4 separate regions of the Homo sapiens genome follow, and all the other regions are linked to region 1. Evidence: promoter capture Hi-C in 16 types of primary human blood cells and fetal thymus (Javierre and others, 2016). All regions are on one chromosome and are shown on one strand. Each heading gives the region's core, a stretch centred on a gene start or on the middle of the fragment in contact. The rest is flanking DNA. Distances are from core to core; before and after follow the strand shown. Region 1 holds the start of CCDC66 (coiled-coil domain containing 66). Region 2 holds the start of KCTD6 (potassium channel tetramerization domain containing 6). Region 3 overlaps ARF4-AS1 (ARF4 antisense RNA 1). Region 4 overlaps PDE12 (phosphodiesterase 12).

Region 1 (2,670 bases), core at 66-2,565:
CATTAGTTTCATAATGAACTCATGACTAAAACATTCTATGGAGTGCTGGAGCATCGATATGACTACTAACAATGCCATCAAGGTTAGTAACTGCTTGAGCAAAGAGTACCACTTTCAATATTTCAAATAATACATAGTGATATTTAGTATGGTGCTTTATACGTGCATATCAGAAGCAAAGGCATAAAGTAACAGTAGCCACTGCCAACAAAACTTGAACGTCTGTTAAGGTCCTAAAACTCCACTGAGAACAAAAATGGCAGCCCATACATACAGTCCATAATTCAGAGAGAGAAAATTAAATCCAGCAAGCCAGTCAAGGGAGAGAGAGGCTGGGAAAGGTCTGATTAGGAATGCGAAATTTGCGGTGTTGCTCAGGTAGGGGAAATCAAATTACCTCACCTTAACTATTAAAGGTAAAACACTGGAAAGAATAGGTTTTACGGCTTTCCTTATTGTAGGGTTATGAACAGTTCGTGTTTATGTTGGTGAAACGTCACCAAGAAAGAAAAGAGCTTCAATGGTAAAGTACCTTCAATGACGCACTGCACTGTAATCTCCTTAAGGGACACACTATCTTATTTATTTCCATATCCCCAGATTCTAAAACATAATAACATTTGCTGAACGATGTGTAGTTAGGTCTGAGTTTGGTGGCTTCTCATCTTCTCAAAATATCAAACTTGCGAGTGATGAAGACCATGCACCAGCCCTTTTTATTTATTCACCCCTACTTAAGGAGCGCCTACTAGGTGTTAGGCACTGGTACTACATCGATTTCTTGAGAAGCCTGGTTCCCCGCCTCGTGGGCCTAAAACGAATTTGGGCGTTTCAACATTCTGCAAGACTCCAAAAACAAGGTGGCGAAGAACCCGGGGCATGGGCCAGGAGTCCTCCCCAGGAGCCGCCACGCTTCCTCTAACTGTCTCGTCATTTCTCTCCTTTCCTCCTCACCTCTCTTCCCTCCTCATCCTGAGGTAAATAAGGGACCGAAAGGGGATCACTGGCAGTTTTAATGCTAGTCATTAAGTGAAAACGTAAGGTCTGTGGAGTCGCTAAGGGCCGACCCATCTGCCTCGATCTTCTACCCGAGAACTGGGCTCTGCCCCTCTCGGCGGCGCAGGTTGGGAACGTTCTCCAGTAAAGACTCCAAGGGACAACCCAGACACACATGCCTCCCTCTCCGCTGACGACCACCTTGCTTACCCCAGCTTACCCCAGCTTACCCCTGCTTACCCCAAGTTCATGGCCTGACCTCGCACTCTCTCCACAGAACGCTCAAGCCCCTTGTGTACGTCGGTTGCCGCCGCCGCTCAGCAAGCGCTACGCCAATTGGATATAGGGGTGCCGGCGAGCTGAGCAAGTGGACCAATCAGGGTGGGGCATGCTGGCGGGTGCGCTGAGCTGGGCCGGGGCTCCCGCGGGGACGGTTGCGTATGCCGTTTGTTCCCCTTTTGTGCCCCGTTTGTGCCGTTTGTTCCCCTACGCACAGCGGAATTTGGCCTGACCCGGCTTATGAGTCTAAAGCTTCGGTGGCGGAGACCTGCGCTTCTCGCAATTGTAGCCTTCCAAAGCGCGTACACAGACACACACACACACACACACACACACACACACACACACACACACACACACACACACACACACCTTTTTGGGGTCACCATTTGCAAGTAAGTTACAGACATTGTAACACTTAACCCTTTAACATTGCAGACATTGTAACACTTAACCCTTTAACATTGCAGCATGTATCTCCTAAGAATAGATGTTCTGCTACATAACCGCAGTACAATTATTATACCTAAGATCATTAATTTCATAATAATTCTCTTCCCGATTTAATTTCCCCCACTTGTCCTAAGAATATCTTATAGGCATTTTATTTAGAAAGCAAGAGCCAATCGCGCCACTGCATTCCAGCAGCTTGGGCGACAGAGTGAGACTCCGTCTCAAAAAAAAAAAAAAAAAATGCAAGAGCCGATCAAGGATCACACATTACATTTGGTTGTTAAGTATCTTTGCACACACTCTTTCCAGACAAAAACAATGAAAGGTATTAATTATTAAATGCCTGACAAACCTTTACTTTTTTATTTTTTATTGTTGTAATATGTGTGTTAAAATTTGCTATTTTTAGCCATTTTCAAGTGACAATTCCATGATACAATGTTGTGGAATACGCCAGTATATTTTTCCAAAAGCTTTTTAGTACCCCCAAATAAAAATTCTGTACCCATTAAGCAACAACTTCCCATTTTCCTCTCCCCTCAATCCTAAGAAACCTCTAATCTTATTTCTGTCTCTAGGAATTTGCCTATTATAGATACTTCATGTCATAAAAGTGGAATCATACAATATTTGTCCTTTTGTGTCTTCTCTCAAGTAACATAATGTATTCAAGGTGCATCCATGTTGTAGGATGTATCAGAGCTTCATATCTGTTTATGATTGAATAGTATTCCATTCTATGTATATATATACCACAATTCGTTTACTCATTCATCCATTAATAGACATTTGGGTTGTTTCCATCTTTTAGTTATTGTGAATAATGCTGTAGTGAACACTGATGTACAAGTATCTGTTTGAATCCCTATTTTCAATTTTCTTGGTATACACCTAAGAGTGGAATTACTGGGTCACATGGTAATTCTATGGTTAACTTTTCGA
Region 2 (2,670 bases), core at 82-2,581, 1.9 Mb before region 1:
TACAAGTAATCATTTTCTCTTTCTCCTTTCTCAACCATGTGGTCTAGAAGAGAGAAGCTATAGGTTTAAAAGTGACCTAATATTAAAAAGCTGTCACAAATAGTCACAAAATCATAACATTCCTCTTAACCCTCAGTTTCCGCAAGATAAAACGGGATAATACCACCTTCCCAAAACGGGGTAATTACACCATTTAGGCACAACACAAAGGCAAAAATTGGCCTATAAGAGTAACACATCAGGACAAGGAAAGAGAACAGGTTCCCAGGGAGGTCCTGTAGTTGAATTCTGCTCCGTTACTGATTATGAGACCCTGAGAAAATCACTCTTTATGCCCAGCTTCTTCTTTGGGGAAATGGAGAAAATAAGGGAGATCATGAATATAAAACCATCTGTAAACTAGCAAGTATTAGACAAATGTGAAAACATTAGTGGCAGCAGCATAAACAAAATTTCTAGGTTAACATGAGAAACTTGAGTGTGAACACAAGTAATTTAGAGCATTGGCCTGGAGACGGCAAATATGGAGGAGGCAGCCTCTTAATTTGCTTCAAATCTCCCCAGGTCCTCCTTTTCCCAGAGCTCCAGAAGGGAGAACTATATACAGGTAAAGGGGAGTGTCTAGTTTTCCCAGAGTTCACCAAACACCTGAGCTCCTGATCTCAGAAGGAACTTCTTTAAAGCATGACTCGGGATTATCTCCAAGTTAAAGCTGAATCCAAATACATACAGGTACTCCATTTTAAATGGACCCCAAATATCAAAATCCAAGCGCACTGAAGGATTCATAGGGTTCACCCTAAGATTCCTTTAAGTAGTAATGCTTTGGTTAAAATATGATTTATGAAAATTCAAATCACAAAACTTTGGAATGGCATCCATGGCTATCCTGACCACTCCATCGTTCATATCTAAGGCATAGCACAAAATCAAGTATCAGTATGGACTGATGGTTTCGGCCAAAGAGAAAATACTCTCAACCTACCAACCCTGCTGACAAACACATTTTCCTTTTCCTAGCTACATATTCGTTCATTTGAAAACATCTCAATCTTGGGCTCAGGACTGTGCTACATGCTGTCCCCAAGCTTCTCTCCTATCCCAGGATGATTCAAGTAATAGGGCATTTGTGACAGCGAAAAAAAGAACATGCCAGGGGGATATAGAAGAGATACTTAGGCTACCCCAAATATTCTTAGCCGAGCCGGGTCATCCCAGGTCACTTTGCCACCCAAACCTCTTCTATCACAAAGTCCTAAAATTGGATCCATCAACTTGTTCTAGAACTGGTATACTTGAACAGAAACATGGTAACTTCGGCAGAATATCCAAACAGGATCTCTGTCACGTTTCATTTCCCCGTCCCACCCCCAGACACAGCCTCCACCACTGTCAGCCCAGCAGGTGCTGCCAGGGCTCCCCATTACCATGGCCATTTATCACCTCTGACATCAAGCATTAAAAACGCCACCACACACACACAAATCTAGGCATAAAGAACTCAGCTGCGATCTGAGAGTCTCTTCAGGGCAGAAAATCCCAAAGGCAGGGTTTTGAGTCCTGCCTCAAGCTTTAAACTAGGGCAATTGGTGGCTAATAAGCGCCATCTCCCAAAAACAATCATTTTCGAGCACACCCCAAATATCTCCGTCCGGGCCGCCCTTCGCTGCTGCCCCGCCAGCGAAGCCCCCGCAACCCGACCCGGCCAGGGGTAGGGCGGGCGATGCTCCGGGCCCGGACGAGGGGCGCGCCGCGGGGCTCCGAACCCGGGCCCGCAGAAACCGCGCATCCCCGCCGGGCGGGCCCCGGAACCCCCGCCCAGGCCCCGCCGCGGGCACCTCCGCTGCTGGCTCGTGCCAGCCCGGGACGCGCGGTCCCCTCAACGCGGCCCCGCCGCCGCCCCGTTCCAGGAGCCCCCGCCCAGATCCTCCTCAGCCCCGCTCCCCTGGCCGCTCGGCGCAGACGTCTCCTGAAACCCGGCCCTCCCAAACCCCGGCCCCGCAAGCCCCGCGCCAGCCCCACTCACTGCGCGGCGGCGGCGGCTGCTGCGGCCGGGCCGGGAGATGCCCGCGGCCGGAGAGCGCGAGCGCGGGGACAAGCGAGCCCGCGCCCGGCGACGGCGGCGGCGGCGGCGGCAGAGGGGACGACTGAGCCCGCGCCCGGAGTTGCGGCTCCAGCTGCCCGGCGCGGGCGGCGCCTTCCCAGCAGAGCCGCGGCGCCACGAGCGCGGGCGCCCCCTAACGGCAGCGCGGGCTGGAAGCCAGAGAGCGGGCGGCCTGAGGAACTCAGCCAGCGCAGTCGGAGCCGCGCGGTCAAGACCACACGACCGCAGCCCCGAAGCCCCGCCCCGAAGCCCCAGTCCCGCCCCTTAGGCTCCGCTCCGAAGCCCCGAAACCCCGCCCCTACGTCCCGCCTCCGCCCGCAGCCTGGGGTCCGCCCAACCCCAGGCCCACTGCGTCCTCAGGGGTGGTGCCTCCACAGCTGTTTCTCCTTAGTCATTTCACGAACTTGTATGGGCCCCCCACTATATCTCAGGCCTGGGGGTTTAGGAGATACAGCGGCCACCAAGACGGAGGCGGGTCCTAATCAAAGGAGAAGACAGACAAGACTCAAGGAAACAGCTAATAGACAAAATAATGACAAGTTATGGCCGTAAGTGTTGGGAGGGAC
Region 3 (2,670 bases), core at 124-2,623, 1.0 Mb before region 1:
GCAAAAATAATTATAGTTGTACCTGGGTATTTGGGGAGATTGGTTCCAGGATCCCCGTGATACCAAAATCTGCAGATGCTCAAGGCCCTTACAGTTGCCATTCTGCATCTGCAGGTTCCACATCTGCTATTGGCTGAATCTGTGGGTTTGAAACCTGAAGATACAGGGGGTCTGCTGTCTGTACATTATTAAACCCAAGGGACTGGAATGTAAATTCCATATACATATTTGTGACTAAAAAGATCTCACTAAGAAAAATAGTCAGAGGCTGGGCGCGGTGGCTCACACCTGTAATCCCAGCATTTTGGGAGGCCGAGGTGGGTGGACCACCTAGGTCAGGAGTTCGAGACCAGCCTGGCCAACATGGTGAAACCCCCTCTCTGCTAAAAATACAAAAATTAGCCGGGCGCAGTGGCATGTGCCTGTAATTCCAGCTACCCCGGAGGCTGATACAGGAGAATCGCTGGAACCCAGGAGGCAGAGGCTACAGTGAGCCAAGATCGCCCCACTGCACTCCAGCCTAGGTGACAGAGCAAAAAAAAATAAAATAAAATAACCAGAGATGAGGAAAACATACTACCTAGTGTAGTATGTTATGAGTACATGCTTTTGAGCCTGGGCAACTTTATACAACACTGTGTTCAAAAGCGATGATTAAATGAAGTACATGGCTTAGCAAGTGATCAATAAACTATAGCAATTTTTCTTGTAGGGCTCAATTTCCTCATTTTTAAAAATAAGAAAGATTCTCTTCTGGGTTTGTATTGATGAAAGGTGAATAGAAAAATATTTTATTTTTAAAATATTTTTTAAAATAGAAATGGCATCTCACTATATTGCCAAGGCTGGTCTGGAACTTCTGGGCTCAAGTGAGTCTCCCATCTTGGCCTCCCAACATGCTGGGATTACAGGTGTGAGCCACCATGCCTGACCTAGAAAAATAAAATAAAATAAAAATAAATTTGGGGTCTGGGCACGGTGGCTCACACCTCTACTACCAACACTTTGGGAGGCCAAGGCGAGTAGATCGCCTGAGCTCAGCAGCTGGATACCAGCTTGGGCAACATGCTGGTCTCTACAAAACGCCAACTCTACCAAAAATACATAAAATAGCTGGGCATGGTGGAATATGTCTGTGGTCCCAGCTACTTGGGAGGCTGAGGCAGGAGGAAAAAGGGAGGGGAGGGGAAGGGAGAGGAGGGAAAAGGGAAGGGAAAAGGGAACAGAAGGGGGAAGGGAGGGGAAAAGGGAAAGGAAAGGAAGGGGAGGGAAGGATGAAGGAAAGAAAAGAAAGAGAAAGAAAGAAAAGAAAGGAAAGAAAGAAAAAGAAAAGAGAAAAGAAAAGAATTTGGCCGGGAACAGTGGCTCAGGCCCATAATCCCAGTACTTTGGGAGGCCAAGGCAGACAGATTGGTTGAGCTCAGGAGTTTGAGACCAGCCTTGGCAACATAGCAAAACCCTGTCTCTACAAAAAATAACACTACTTAGCCAATGTGGTGGTGTACCTGTAGTCCCAGCTACTTTGGGGGCTGAGGTGGGAGGATCACTTGATCCCAGGAGGTTGAGTAAGCCGAGATGATGCCACTGTACTTCAGCTTGGGTGACAAAGTGAGACCCTGTCTCAAATAAATAAATAAATAAATGTAAGAAGGTAGTATAGTGTAGTGGTTAAGAGTGTTAATGGCTGGGTGCACTGGCTCACACCTGTAATCCCAACACTTTGGAGGCTGAGGTGGAAGGATTGCTTGGGCCCAGGAGTTCCAGACAGGCCTGGGCAACATAGCCAGAATCCACTTATTTATTAAAAAAAAAAAAAAAAAAAGAGTGTAAATACCAGTTAATACCAGAAGAAATGGGTTCTTATAGCTGTTCCACTGCTTTTAGCTGTGTGACCTTGGGCAGAATATTTAATCTCTCTGACCCTGATTATTTTTATCTGTACAATAGAGATATTACAGTCTGCCATTAACATCCTGTTTTGTAATTTACATTAGCCACTTGATGTGTAGTGTATTCTTACTGAAAAATCTGTTTTGACAACTTTTGTTTTGGTTCAGGTTTTGGAGGCTAGAGATGGAGAACAGAATTCTTTCGATTTATTTTGCATAACTAAACAGAAAACATGGATTAAGATTTGGAATAAGTTACAGGGAGGAGGGCTCATACGGTTTGTCTTTTGAATTTAAGAAGACCCTAAGAATTAGTTGAAGATTGTTTTAAGGAATTCTACTATATAAAACTAAAAACAGACATAAGGCCTAAAGTGTGAAAGGAAAATAAATCTTGGGGCCTCCACCTCACTAAGCTAAAGAGAAAAGTCAAGCTGGGAACTGCTTAGGGCCAACCTGCCTCCCATTCTTTAAAAAGTCACCCCTCTGCTCACTGAGATAAACGCATATCTGACTGCCTCCTTTGGAGAGGCTAATCAGAAACTCAAAGGAATGCAACCATTTGTCTCTTATCTATCTATGCCCTGGAAGCTCCCTCCCCACTCAGAGTCTTCCTGCCTTTGCTTTGAGTTGTCCAGTCTTTCCAGAATGAACCAATGTTCATCTTACATATATTGATTGATGTCTCATTTCTCCCTAGAATGTATAAAACCAAACCGTGCTCTGATCACCTTGGGCACATGTCTACAAGACCTCCTGAGGCTATGTCATGGACGCGTGT
Region 4 (2,670 bases), core at 120-2,619, 1.0 Mb before region 1:
AGAGGGATGGGAAACACTAGGTAAGGCCTGGTGGGTGGTAACTTCTTCATGACTAGGTAATGGAATCACCTGTTCAACCTCTAAAGCATTTAAGTCAATGAAAATGTAATCTAGACATCCATGAAAGCCACCAACATAATTTGTGTAAGCAGGTTCACCACAAGCACTTTTCAGCTTGAAGAAATGTGTAAGAGACATATTGCATCTTTCCTCCTCCCCATTGGAAGCCCAGTCTTCATGATCCTCTGGAATGCTGCCATTGATGACAAAATGATACATTCCTGTTGATGGTGTACTATTAAAGTCCCCACAAAATATAACTGGTATGCCAGGATACAGATCACATGAAACATGTCTTATGTGAGCCAAGGCTACTGCCATTTGAATGAGGCGAATATACCCACCTATGAATATAAAAAACATTAATGTAAGTATTTTTTAAAGTTGTCTTTAAGTTAAAAAAGAAAAACTACACAAATTACAGTCTCTGGGTGACGTTCAAGATATGCATTTGTGTAAAACACTTTAAACAACTTTAAGCGTGTTTAAGTCACTTGTGATACCAAATAAAACCTACCTTTAGGATGCCAGTAAAGATGGGTATTAGCAACACATATCCTTTTAGAAGAGTCCTTTGTAGACTGAAGAACTGAAACCTAAAATAAACGGAAAGTGCCAAGAGTTCAGTTGGCATTTGCAAATCTCCTGAATGTTTTTGTTTGTTTGTTTGTTTTTTTGAGTTTTTTCGAGACAGTCTCACTCTGTCAACCAGGCTGGAGTGCAGTAGCGCGATCTCGGCTCACTGCAAGCTCCGCCTCCCGGGTTCAAGCGATTCCCCTGCCTCTGCCTCCGGAGTAGCTGGGACTACAGGCGCGTGCCACCACGCCCGGCTAATTTTTTTGTATTTGTAGTAGAGACGGGGTTTCATCGTGTTAGCCAGGATGGTCTCGATTTCCTGACTTGTGATCCACCCGCCTCGGCCTCCCAAAGTGCTGGGATTACAGGCATAAGCCACCAGGCCCGGCCTGTTTTTTATCTAAGACTAATGGCGAACTAACGTTTTCTTCCATCTCCTTCCCTTGATGAACTAGGACTGCAGTCATGAAATCCAACTTAAAGTTTCAGGATCTACATGACTAGGTTCAGTGTAACATGTTTTAATAATAGTCCAATATAGGCCGGGCGTGGTGGCTCACGCCTGTAATCCCAGCACTTTGGGAGGCTGAGGCGGGCGGATCACGAGGTCAGGAGATCGAGACCATCCTGGCTAACATGGTGAAACCCCAAACCCCGTCTCTACTAAAAAAATTAGCCGGGCGTGGTGGCACGCGCCTCTAGTCCCAGCTACTAGGGAGGCTGAGGCAGGAGAATCGCTTGAACCCGGGAGGCGGAAGTTGCGGTGAGCCGATATCGCGCCACCGTACTCCAGCCTAGGTGACAGAGACTCCGTCTCAAAATAATAATAATAATAATAATAGTCCAATATATAAAGCTAGTAATATAAACAATACATTTTACATGACAACACTTTGACTGGAGAAAGTGTTTTCAAGCGTAAGCACAGGCTTTGGAGTCAGGCAGACCTGGGTTTGAATACTCATTTCACCATTTATAGCAATGTGACCTGCAAAAAGATGCTTTTCTAGCCAGTTTCGTACTGGCAGTCACTGACAATACCATCCACCTCATGGGCTGTTGTGTGGAGTCAATTAAATGATCTTATAAGGTGCATGAAACACCTTAGGTACTTAAAAAATGGTAGCTGCTCTTCTTATTATGAACAAAATCAATTACTTAAAAACTTTAACACAAGAATGACATCTATAAAATGGGAATAGGGGACTTACTGTGAAGATTCAATGAGCCTATGATTTAAAAAAAACTAGTTTATATTTATGGAGCACTTCAAAACACACCACGCTCTTAAATTTTAAGTACTTTAAAATGTGCCAGAACAGTGCTTGGCAAGTAGTAAAAAACATTAGCTACTATTGTTCTTGCATTTAGCGTGTGTCCCTCTCGCTAGATTGTAAGCACTGTAAAAGTCCCTGCTAGTCTTGTTCAAGGCAACCTGCAGTATGGCAGGCACACCAGAGGTGTTCAAAAAATATCTGCTGAATGAATGAAGAGTAAACTTTGTGCTGAAGATACAAGGGCAAACACACCTTTCAACAATATCTGGATACTTTCATCGCACTTTTAACCCCCACCTCATTCCTCGCCTTCCTGGCCCCTAAAAGTGGGACAGTATGTGAAGAGACGGGCGGAACTACTTTACCTGAAGAACAGAAGATCTCTGGAGCACCTTCTCCTGCGCTGATGGGTACAAAACTAGTTTCTCCAGCAGTTCTTTGTGAAGTGGGTCGGACTCGAGGGCTTCGTAGAATGAAATGTCATGCTGGCTAAGAAGGCTGAACTTAGACTTTCGGTAGAAAGTGGCCAGGCCTTCGTGCTGCTTGATTCGAAACACCCCCTCGAGCCCGAAGGCCTCTAGGGCGGGTACCAAGCTGTCAGAAAACACTGCGCGGTCAACCTCCTGCAAACAGATGACATCGGCGTTGTAGCCGGTGAGTTCCTTCTGGATAAGGTTCTGGCGGTAGTCGAGCTCCAGGGCGTAGGGGGCACAGTATGGGTACAGAACCGTTCGCGAGAACTCAGTCTGCGCGTACG

What was found. Contacts are between HindIII fragments. The CHiCAGO score rates a contact against its expected background, and 5 or more counts as called.
Region 2: a fragment that was not itself captured here is called in contact with the fragment with the promoter of CCDC66 in region 1 in 4 of 17 cell types (activated CD4 T cells, fetal thymus, naive CD8 T cells and 1 more); the score reaches 7.1 in activated CD4 T cells.
Region 3: a contact is called between a fragment that was not itself captured here and the fragment with the promoter of CCDC66 in region 1, in 2 of 17 cell types (total CD8 T cells and total B cells). The highest score is 5.5, in total CD8 T cells.
Region 4: a contact is called between a fragment that was not itself captured here and the fragment with the promoter of CCDC66 in region 1, in 4 of 17 cell types (total CD4 T cells, activated CD4 T cells, fetal thymus and 1 more). The highest score is 6.6, in total CD4 T cells.

The regions. Positions count from the first base shown.
Region 1 is chr3:56,555,820-56,558,489 of GRCh38, reverse strand. It overlaps CCDC66 (coiled-coil domain containing 66), which reads right to left and starts at 1,315. Exons shown (of 18, transcript NM_001141947.3): 1 at 1,237-1,315. The coding sequence starts at 1,247. RefSeq lists enhancers at 900-1,059, 528-1,199, 1,200-1,872. The HindIII fragment of the contact is 1,896 bases long and covers 1-1,529 here.
Region 2 is chr3:58,491,526-58,494,195 of GRCh38, reverse strand. It overlaps KCTD6 (potassium channel tetramerization domain containing 6), which reads right to left and starts at 2,100. Exons shown (of 3, transcript NM_001128214.2): 1 at 2,027-2,100. RefSeq lists a silencer at 1,800-2,449. The HindIII fragment of the contact is 482 bases long and covers 1,091-1,572 here.
Region 3 is chr3:57,599,005-57,601,674 of GRCh38, reverse strand. It overlaps ARF4-AS1 (ARF4 antisense RNA 1), which reads right to left. Exons shown (of 2, transcript NR_132370.1): 2 at 759-932. It also overlaps a transcript of PDE12 not described here. Among named protein-coding and RNA genes, the nearest start is that of ARF4-AS1, 2.6 kb to the right of the region's middle. The HindIII fragment of the contact is 2,797 bases long and covers 1-2,670 here.
Region 4 is chr3:57,557,296-57,559,965 of GRCh38, reverse strand. It overlaps PDE12 (phosphodiesterase 12), which reads right to left. Exons shown (of 3, transcript NM_177966.7): 1 at 2,279-2,670; 2 at 578-656; 3 at 1-404. Among named protein-coding and RNA genes, the nearest start is that of PDE12, 2.4 kb to the right of the region's middle. RefSeq lists an enhancer at 1,230-1,862. The HindIII fragment of the contact is 2,956 bases long and covers 1-2,670 here.